Regions from separate parts of the Homo sapiens genome. Here region 2 is linked to region 1. The links are contacts of gene promoters, found by promoter capture Hi-C in blood cells and fetal thymus (Javierre and others, 2016). All regions are on one chromosome and are shown on one strand. The core of a region is centred on a gene start or on the middle of the fragment in contact, and the rest is flanking DNA. Distances in the headings are between cores, read along the strand shown. Region 1 holds the start of ZNF280C (zinc finger protein 280C). Region 2 overlaps UTP14A (UTP14A small subunit processome component).

What was found. The method cuts DNA at HindIII sites, captures the fragments that hold promoters and counts their contacts. A CHiCAGO score of 5 or more calls a contact.
Region 2: a contact is called between a fragment that was not itself captured here and the fragment with the promoter of ZNF280C in region 1, in 2 of 17 cell types (activated CD4 T cells and naive CD8 T cells). The highest score is 5.7, in activated CD4 T cells.

The regions. Positions count from the first base shown.
Region 1 is chrX:130,266,354-130,270,966 of GRCh38, forward strand. ZNF280C (zinc finger protein 280C) reads right to left here and starts at 2,546. Exons shown (of 19, transcript NM_017666.5): 1 at 2,409-2,546. RefSeq lists a silencer at 2,247-2,326. The HindIII fragment of the contact is 6,334 bases long and covers 1-4,078 here.
Region 2 is chrX:129,922,923-129,927,535 of GRCh38, forward strand. UTP14A (UTP14A small subunit processome component) reads left to right here. Exons shown (of 15, transcript NM_006649.4): 12 at 1,873-2,273; 13 at 2,997-3,190; 14 at 3,318-3,417. All of the region lies in intron 2 of LOC105373335 (a long non-coding RNA gene), which reads right to left. Among named protein-coding and RNA genes, the nearest start is that of UTP14A, 19 kb to the left of the region's middle. RefSeq lists a silencer at 2,812-2,861. The HindIII fragment of the contact is 700 bases long and covers 2,338-3,037 here.

The DNA.
Region 1 (4,613 bases), core at 1,296-3,795:
AGATGGGGAAAAGATGTTGATCCAAGAGTACGAAGTTTAATTAGATGGGAGGAATAAGTTTTAGTTATCTATTGCACTACAAGGTGACCACAGCTAATACTAATAATGTATTGTATATTTCAAAATTGCTAAAATAATTTCTAACATTCTCATAACAAAATGATAAATTGGTAAGGTGATGGCTATGTTAGCCTCTTTCAATAATGTATACATATCAAAACATCACATTGTACCCCATAAATACGCACAATTATCATTTGCCAATAAAAAGTTAAAAAGGAAACAAAAAAATGAAAAAAAAAACTCCTTAAAAGAAAACTACTTTGCAGCAAATGAATAAAGTCTAGACGAATACTCTACTTTCAGGAGTCATTTCTACAGTTCATTACTAGTGATGTTTCTCTGAATGTACAGAGCACTGGGAAAAAAAGTCTAGACGTATATATTTGATTCAAATTACTGAGGAAGGCTGGGCATGGAGGCTCACTCCTGTAATCCCAGCACTTTGGGAGGCCGAGGTGGGTGGATCACGAGGTCAGGCGTTCCAGACCAGCCTGGCCAACATAGTGAAACCCCATCTCTACTAAAATTACAAAAATTAGCCGGGCGTGGTGGCAAGGGCCTGTAACCCCAGCTGCTTAGGAGGCTGAGGTAGCAGAATCGGTTGAACCCGGGAGGCAGAGGTTGCAGTGAGCTGAGATCGCGCCACTGCACTCCAGCCCGGGCGACATTGCGAGACTCCGTCTCAAAAAAAAAAAAAAAAAATTACTGAGGAAATCAAATCTTTTTGAATCACTACTTAAGACAAACTCACTGAAAACCAAGTAGCTGAGATTTGGAGTTATTCAACCTAAGAACTTTTTCAATAGGATATTCTTCAACTCTTCAACATGCTTAGAAATAATATTAAAGTATGAAAAAGTCGAAAAAAAATGAAGCCTTAAAAATAAAAATATAAAGGAAAAAGGAATTGAATAATACTTCTTAAAACTTTTAAGTGAGCCTCCTTGCTTATTCTCCGTGACCACCTCACTCTCACAAAAAGTGAGACATAATATACCAAATTGAACATTGGATGAGGGTCAGAAAGCCTAGGTTTAAGAATTGGTTCCATCACTTCCTAGGCACATGACCTCGGTAAAGTTCTGTCCTTGAGGCTGTTTCCTCATCTTCAAACAGTTCTAACGACACCCTACAGCCCATCTCAAAAGGGGTGCTACCAATGAAATATACAAATGCAAGATACGATTATAATGGAATCTGTACTGCTGTAGAAACATCAAAGGTACACAGCCCTAATTTTACAAGCAAATCAGTGCCTTTGTAGGCTCAGTGAAGTTTCTGCGTAAGGAGATTAAGTTTGCACAGTAACCCCCAAACCAGGACACCTCACAAATACTAAGAGGAGACTTTTGCAGTTTAAAACTCTACTTCTAGGTTTCTATTTTATGTTTAGGGGCACTAAAAGACATTACAACTCATAGTCCAAACCTGAAAACAATAGTAAAAAAAATTTAAGGTCGCAGATTTAAAAAACTCCACAAAACTAACAAATCTTTCCAAACAAAGAGAATCCCCTGGATGAAGGTCTCCCGTGCTTGCAGAAGCTGGTTCACTTGACAATTTCCTCTCGAATTTCTCCTTAAAAAAGCATTAAAACCTGAGAGAAGTTGAAAGGAACTCCCTCCATCTCTAGAGCAGGAGTATACCTCAGCATAATTTTTTCCATCTCTTTAAGTAAAACCTGCAAACCTCCTAGTTAGAATATAGTGTATTTAACTCCACGTTTCTCCTCAGGGCTCTTATCCTCTAGACAATAACGGAATAGAGCACGATTTCTGTGACAGAGAAGGGAAGTCCCTTTGGCCAGAACAAGGTTGTGGGCATGGAATGACCGGTCCTGTGTGGGGGGAACCTGCGCAGAAAGAAGGGGTCACAGGGTCTCTGATGCCTGAAAGTTCGGAATCCCCTCAAGTCTCTTTTCGTTTGATTGAAGAGACTTGAGGGTGGGCGGGTCTCCGTCAAACATCAGTATCAACCGTACAAAAGACGAAAGGGAGTTGCCTCCAGAATGAAAAGCCCAAACCGGGTTGGAAACAGACCGACAGGACTCAGGAGGTGAGAAGGCTGCCGCAGCTGCCGCGGCCCGCGAAACCACTGCCCGCCGCGGGCCGCCAGGCTCTACCTCCAGAAAACCCTCCCCCTTCAGGGCCCGGCGCAAGATGGTGGCCCACCAGCTACCACGCCGCCAAGCCTGTCCCCTCCCCCGCACCCCCGTCGATCCGCACCGGCATAGAGACCCTCAGCCAGCCGCCCTCAGAACCGCCCTCTGGGGAAGGCTGCCTCGGCCGCGCGGGAGAGCTGCTGCCTCCTTCCGCGCGGCACAGGCGGGGGCGGGGGCCGCTTACCGAGAGCAGAGCAGATCGGTCTGACTGGGGTTCGGATAAGGAGGAGGAGAAAGAGGAGGAGGAAAGGGAGGAGCGCGAAAAACCTCAGGCGACAGCCTCAGCAACAGCGACTCCCCCGGAGACTTCCAGCGCGGAACCGGCGTCTCAGCCGGGGGCAGAAGTATATAACTGCACGCGCTGCCTCATGGGTAGACGCCGACTCCACCCCCTGAACATCCGGGGCCTTTTAACCGCCCACGGACGGACGGCTGGTACTTACATGTGCACATGTGCAGCTACTTTACTTACCGTCGAAGGCAGCGGAGGAAGTGTAATTGACTAGCGTGGATGCAGCTTTTCTAAGCAAACGCTCGATTTAACCTGGAGTTGTCATCCCAAAAAATACATTGTACCTGACTACAGAGAAACATGAATTCTGGGTCTTCCTTGTGTGTGAGGGCTAAAGACACGAGTTAAAAATATAAATATATTGTTTTCTGGAAATACTGTACTTGAAACACGTCTCAAAATACTAGTTATTTTTACCTTTTGTTTTAAACATATGGTTTTGCTTGTCTCTCTGTTACTTCTAATTGCCATATGGATGCCTATAGTAGGTACAAAAAATGCTAAGGAAAAATACATTTACTCTTACACACAAGGAAGACCCAGAATTCATGTTTCTCTGTAGTCAGGTACAATGTATTTTGTGGGATGACAACTCCAGGTTAAATCGAGCGTTTGCTTAGAAAAGCTGCATCCACGCTAGTCAATTACACTTCCTCCGCTGCCTTCGACGGTAAGTAAAGTAGCTGCACTTGTGCACATGTAAGTACCAGCCGTCCGTCCGTGGGCTGGCCGCGGTGGCTCACACTTCTAATTCCAGCACTTTGGGAGGCTGAGGTGGGTGGATCACCTGGGGTGAGGAGTTTGAGACCACTTCCCTTTCCTCCTCGCCTTTCTCCTCCTCCTTCTCTGAACCCCAGTCAGCCTGACCAACATAGTGAAACCCCATCTTTACTAAAAATACAAAATTAGCAGGGTGTGGTGGCACATGCCTGTAATCCCAGCTACTTGGGAGGCTGAGGCGGGAGAATCACTGGAACTTGTAAATACATTTACAAGAAAAACACTTGCCAAAATACTGCTTACAGAAACATTTTCTAGACATTGTGCTTTGAACTGTAAAAGTTTCTTCTCCCAAATTTCTCCACAAGGTTTATAGCAGTACTGGTTCATCTCTCTTTTTCTTTTTTGAGACGGAGTTTCGCTCTTGTTGCCCAGGCAGGAGTCCAATGGCGTGATCTTGGCTCACCGCAACCTCCGCTTCCCGGGTTCAAGTGACTCTCCTGCCTCAGCCTCCCGAGTAGCTGGGATTACAGGCATGCGCCACCACACCCGACTAATTTTGTATTTTTAGTAGAGACGGGGTTTCTCCATGTTGGTCAGGCTGGTCTCGAACTCCCCACCTCAGGTGATCTGCCTGCCTCGGCCTCCCAAAGTGCTGGGATTACAAGCGTGAGCCACCACGCCTGGCCCAATTCATCTCTTAAGAGTTGCCCAGACTGAAAATATCGTGTGGCTTACATAACACACACGTAAATCCTGTCACTGAATCCTACCATTTTTTTTATTTGAGCTAGTTTTTTCTTTCTTATTTATACAGCTATTTGCTTCTGACCCTGAAAATAAGCTTTACAGGAAAAGACAGAGAATAATCAAAATAAAACAGTGAAAAGTCCCAAAATCTTGGAGCATGCATAGTTGGTCCCTGCTTCCGGTCAGGGTGATAAGAAAGTCCGGGCACCTTTTCCTTTGATGCCAGCAGGAAATTTAAAACTAGCAAATCTACAGCCGCATGACTCTGCTTTTGGCTGTAGTGGGAAATTTAAAACTTGTGATTCTCCAGCCTGCCTCCTTCTTTGGCATTGGTGGGAAATTTAAAACTGGCAACAAAAATTGGTGCAGTTGAGAAATTTAAAACTTGCAAATCTACAGCCTGTGCGGCATTTTCACCAGCCCCACTTCCTAGATGCTATAAAGGCCCATCCAACTTCCTCTGCCTCTGAAACCAGCCCAGACCTGTTTGCAGCACCCAGCCCTCCCTCACTTACCCCCACTAGTCCCCAGGGTAATAAAATTTCTCTCAAATTCTCTTGTCATATCTAGTGTCACGAGTGTCCACATCCAACCTAAAATTACGAGGAGGAATGGTCAAACTGCCTC
Region 2 (4,613 bases), core at 1,438-3,937, 340 kb before region 1:
CACAGGACCCTAGTGGCTTTCTCTTGAGCCCCCTCAACAACTGGCCATCTAGCTAAATGTGCAGAGCGGCTGACTGTGATATGAAAGAATGAAAGATAGATTTGCATTTCCTTGGACAGTAAATAAATTGAATTTTCTCACACCTTCCAAGAGTGTCCTAAAATACTGGAAAGCCACGGACCCCAGTGAAAATGAGCAAGGAAACCTGATTCTTGAGAAATAAACGTACATGTGTCCAAAGGCCAGATCTAAGGAGCTACAATGGCTTCATGCCAAAGCTAGACAGCAGGATCAACTTGGGAATGGAGGCAACTTGAGTCAATGAAAAAGACAGTTTAGAAGCATGTCACTGCCAGGTTTCCCTCCAGACTGTTTTGAGACAGGTCTCTGTCATACAGGCTGGAGTGCAGTGGTGCAACCTCGGCTCACTGCAAGCTCCACCTCCCAGGTTCAAGCAATCCTCCTGCCTCAGCCTGCAAGTAGCTGGGATTACAGGCATATGCCACCACGCCCAGCTAATTTTTGTATTTTTAGTAGAGACAGGGTTTTGCCATGTTGGTCAGGCTGGTCTCAAACTCCTGGCTTCAAGTGAATCACCCATTTCGGCCTCCCAGAGTGCTGGGATTACAGGTGTGAGCCACTGTGCCAAGCCAGCCCCTCCAGACTCTTGAGACTAGTGTTATTTGCTCAGATGTTGCCAGTGAAAGTGTGAGCTACATCCACTGGATAAAGCAGCTACTTCATCCCTTGACTCAGCCACAGCAGATTATGAAATACTGCTTTAAGATATGGAGTAGAAATTCTTGAGTCAAGATGAAAATCCTGGATAGGGTTTTTACAAGCAGTGAAGCATAAATTACAATGAAGTTACATTGAGAAGCCACCTGTTAAAGTGGCTTCCTTTTTTAAAATTTGGAACTTGGGGCAATCTTCCCAAGCAGGGTTTACTGCACGAGGAACTTAAGCCACAGTCCCAGTTATACAGTGGATCATTGGCAAAGCTGGGAATAGGACCCAGGACGTCTGCTTCCAATATGCTACTTTTTTTTTTTTTTTGAGACGTCTTGCCCTGTTGCCCAGGCTAGTATGCAGTGGCACAGTCACAGCTTCCTGCAGCCTTGACCTTCTGGCTCCAGCAATCCTCCCAGCTTAGCCTCCCAAGTAGGTGGGACTACAGATCCACACCGCCATGCCTGGAAATTTTTTGTTGTTGTTGGAGGGGTGGAGGTGGTAGAGATGAGTTCTCACTATGTTGTTCAGGCTGGTCTCGAACTCCTGGGCTCAAGCTATCCTGCCCCCTTGGCCTCCCAAAGTGCTGGCATACAGGCGTGAGCCACCATATCCAACATCTCACATGCTACTTTTTTTTTTTTTTTTTTTTTGAGACGGAGTCTCGCTCTGTCACCTAGGCTGGAGTGCAGTGGCACAATCTCGGCTCACTGCAACCTCTGCCTCCCTGGTTCAAGTGATTCTCCTGCCTCAGCCTCCTGAGTAGCTGGACTACAGGCACATGCCACCATGCCCAGCTAATTTTTTGTATTTTTAGTAGAGATGGGGTTTCACCGTGTTAGCCAGGATGGTCTCGATCTCCTGACCTCATGATCTGCCCGCCTCGGCCTCCCAAAGTGCTGGGATTACAGGTGTGAGCCACCGCACCTGGCCACATGCTACTTTTAATTACCAAACTCCGTTGCCTGCTATGATTAGTGTACTGTCTAGGAGATTCAATGTACAGAATCTTCTTTTCCCCGTTTGTCCTTTTTATAATGTCTTATGTGGTACCTAGCACTTGGTGGGTGCTCAACAAATGCTTACCGACCAGACAACGTACAAACCTCATTTTCTGACAGTTTTCATTCTTTTTTCCCCCAGATTCTGGCAGCCAGGAGGTGCTGTCTGAATTGAGAGTACTATCTCAGAAATTGAAGGAAAACCATCAGTCCAGGAAGCAAAAAGCAAGTTCAGAGGGGACTATTCCCCAGGTCCAGAGAGAGGAACCTGCCCCAGAAGAAGAGGAGCCCCTGTTGCTACAGAGACCAGAGAGAGTACAGACGCTGGAAGAGCTAGAAGAGCTGGGAAAAGAAGAATGTTTTCAAAATAAGGAGCTTCCCAGACCTGTGTTAGAAGGGCAGCAGTCAGAGAGGACCCCAAATAATCGCCCTGATGCCCCTAAGGAGAAGAAAAAGAAGGAGCAAATGATCGACCTACAGAACCTCCTAACCACACAATCTCCCTCCGTGAAGTCTTTGGCAGTTCCCACAATAGAGGAGCTGGTGAGCAGAGCCAGGGTGGTGGGCCATTGTTCAGAAAGTGTCGTTCTTGCGCAAGGAGTAATGAAGCTTTGTTTTGCTGGGGGCACATTTCAGTAGTTTAGAGGTCCAGAATAGTATAGGGCCAGGCTAGTCCCAGTGACGTTTTAATAGATGCAGATATATGGGTGCTGCCAAGACCCCTATTTCCGAAAGCCTGATCCACAAAAACTCCTCTGGGGTGACTCTAAAACTGCTCTCAGAGGTAAGAGGGAGTAACTCAGAGTTCTGACCAGATCCCAGGCAGGACAACTTGAAGGTGAGTCATTGAACTGTTGCGAAAGTTTTATTCAGTGGGATCTCAGATGGTCTAAGACTCCCCAGTTAATCTGAAACTTAAAGTGAAGCGTCCTGGCACCTGTCTTTTCAGGGATATAAGCTGGAGGAAGCCTACAGTCTGGCCACTTAGAGCTCCTGCTGCTAACACGGGCCATTCCTTCCTCCACCCTGCAGCTTCCTTACTGAAAAGTTTAAAATTGTGTCATATGATAATGAGCTAGGGATATTTACCCTAGAGGGAAGAAAATTTGAGCATGATTGGCTGTGCACTGGTTTGTATCGCAAGACCATCATTGTTCAGCACTTCCCCCTAGGGGGCGCTAAAATGTCACGACCCGAAATTCAAGCGTTCTCGCCATGAACCACAGCTCATAAGCCAAGCTGTAGCTCTCGCTTGTTTCTTCCCAGGAAGATGAAGAGGAGAGAAACCATAGGCAGATGATAAAGGAAGCTTTTGCTGGGGATGATGTCATCAGAGATTTCTTGAAAGAGAAGAGGGAAGCTGTGGAGGCGAGTAAGCCAAAGGACGTGGACCTGACACTACCTGGCTGGGGCGAGTGGGGTGGTGTGGGCCTAAAGCCCAGTGCCAAGAAAAGACGCCGGTAAGAATGCCGAAGAAAGTCTGTCAAAAGGGCACCGGGTTCTCCCCTCGCCCTTCGGTGTCCTCCCTACCCTTTTGACTAAGTCCTTAATGCTCCTAGTCAGATGTCCTGTTGTTTTGCTTTCCAGGTTTCTCATTAAAGCCCCTGAGGGTCCTCCAAGAAAAGATAAGAATTTGCCAAATGTGATTATCAATGAGAAGCGCAACATCCACGCAGCTGCTCATCAGGTGAGAGCTTAGAGAGCTCTTTAGCTGCCTGCTTGTTACTGCCTGGCTCTCTTGCTTGAGAGGAGTATTCTAGTGATCTGTAGTCAAGAGAGACGTGTGATCTTGACCGCAGAATCAAATCTGTTGTTTTCACTGAATGGCTGTTAGATTTATCATTTCAGATAGACTACGCTGTTTTAATTACTGGCCAGGAAAAAAGTTTAGAGTCAAGGTAATGCTCAAACAGAGGCTATAAGGTTTAAGCTGTAGCTTAAGAAAAATGAAGACAAACCGGTACTTGTTCAGGAGAATGAGAAGATTGTAAGTTGTGTCACATGATAATGAGCTAGGGATGTTTACAAGAGAAGAAAATTTGAGCGTGATTACGGTGTTCAAGTATATCGAAGGTTATTGTATGAAGTCACATAAAGTAGAAGTTAGAGGACATACAGAATTCAAGGCTGCTCTGGGAGTATGAGAATGTGTAAAGGGGACTCAAGAACGAGATTGGACTAGATGACCTTTATGTTCCCTTCAATTCTGAGATCTGTCCCCAGCCAGTATATTGAAATGAGTTACATTTTTCCCTCGGAAGGAATAAAGAATTAATGGCTACAGAACAGAGGTAAGAAGATACACATTTCAATAACATTCTTTTTGATCTTATTTTGTGAACCAATCACTGCAGAAACTGAATCATAACTACTGCAGTCCCAATTAAACCTATATAACTAGAAAATAGGCAGTTACACGATAAGGGAAGGGGGGAAAGGGTGCTTCAGTGGGCCAGGATTCCAGGTGATGGGTAGAGTATGGAGCTCAATAAAGACCACCCTTCCCTTCCAGGGGTCTGTTTGTTTTTTTAATACAGTCATGGCAAACTGACAAATAGTTTTCTAGGAATCTCCCCTGATTTTCATCTTTTTAATAAGTTACTGCAGGTTCCAACATGCAGTAGAATAAAGTGCTTCAAGGTGCCTAGGGGGGACTTCTGAGACTGAATACTTTGTCCAGGTGTTCTCTTTTTCTGTTGCCCTGGTTGACAAGCACAGATGTAGCCGTCAACCCAAATAAGACATTCCCTTAACTTAAAGAGAATCTGTTTCCTTTGCTACTACCAGGACCACCTGATAGTACTTAGCTTCTCTTGAGTATTCCACTGAATGTTTCCAGAGACTACTGATTTTTGTTTGTTTGTTTTGTTTTCAGATGGAGTC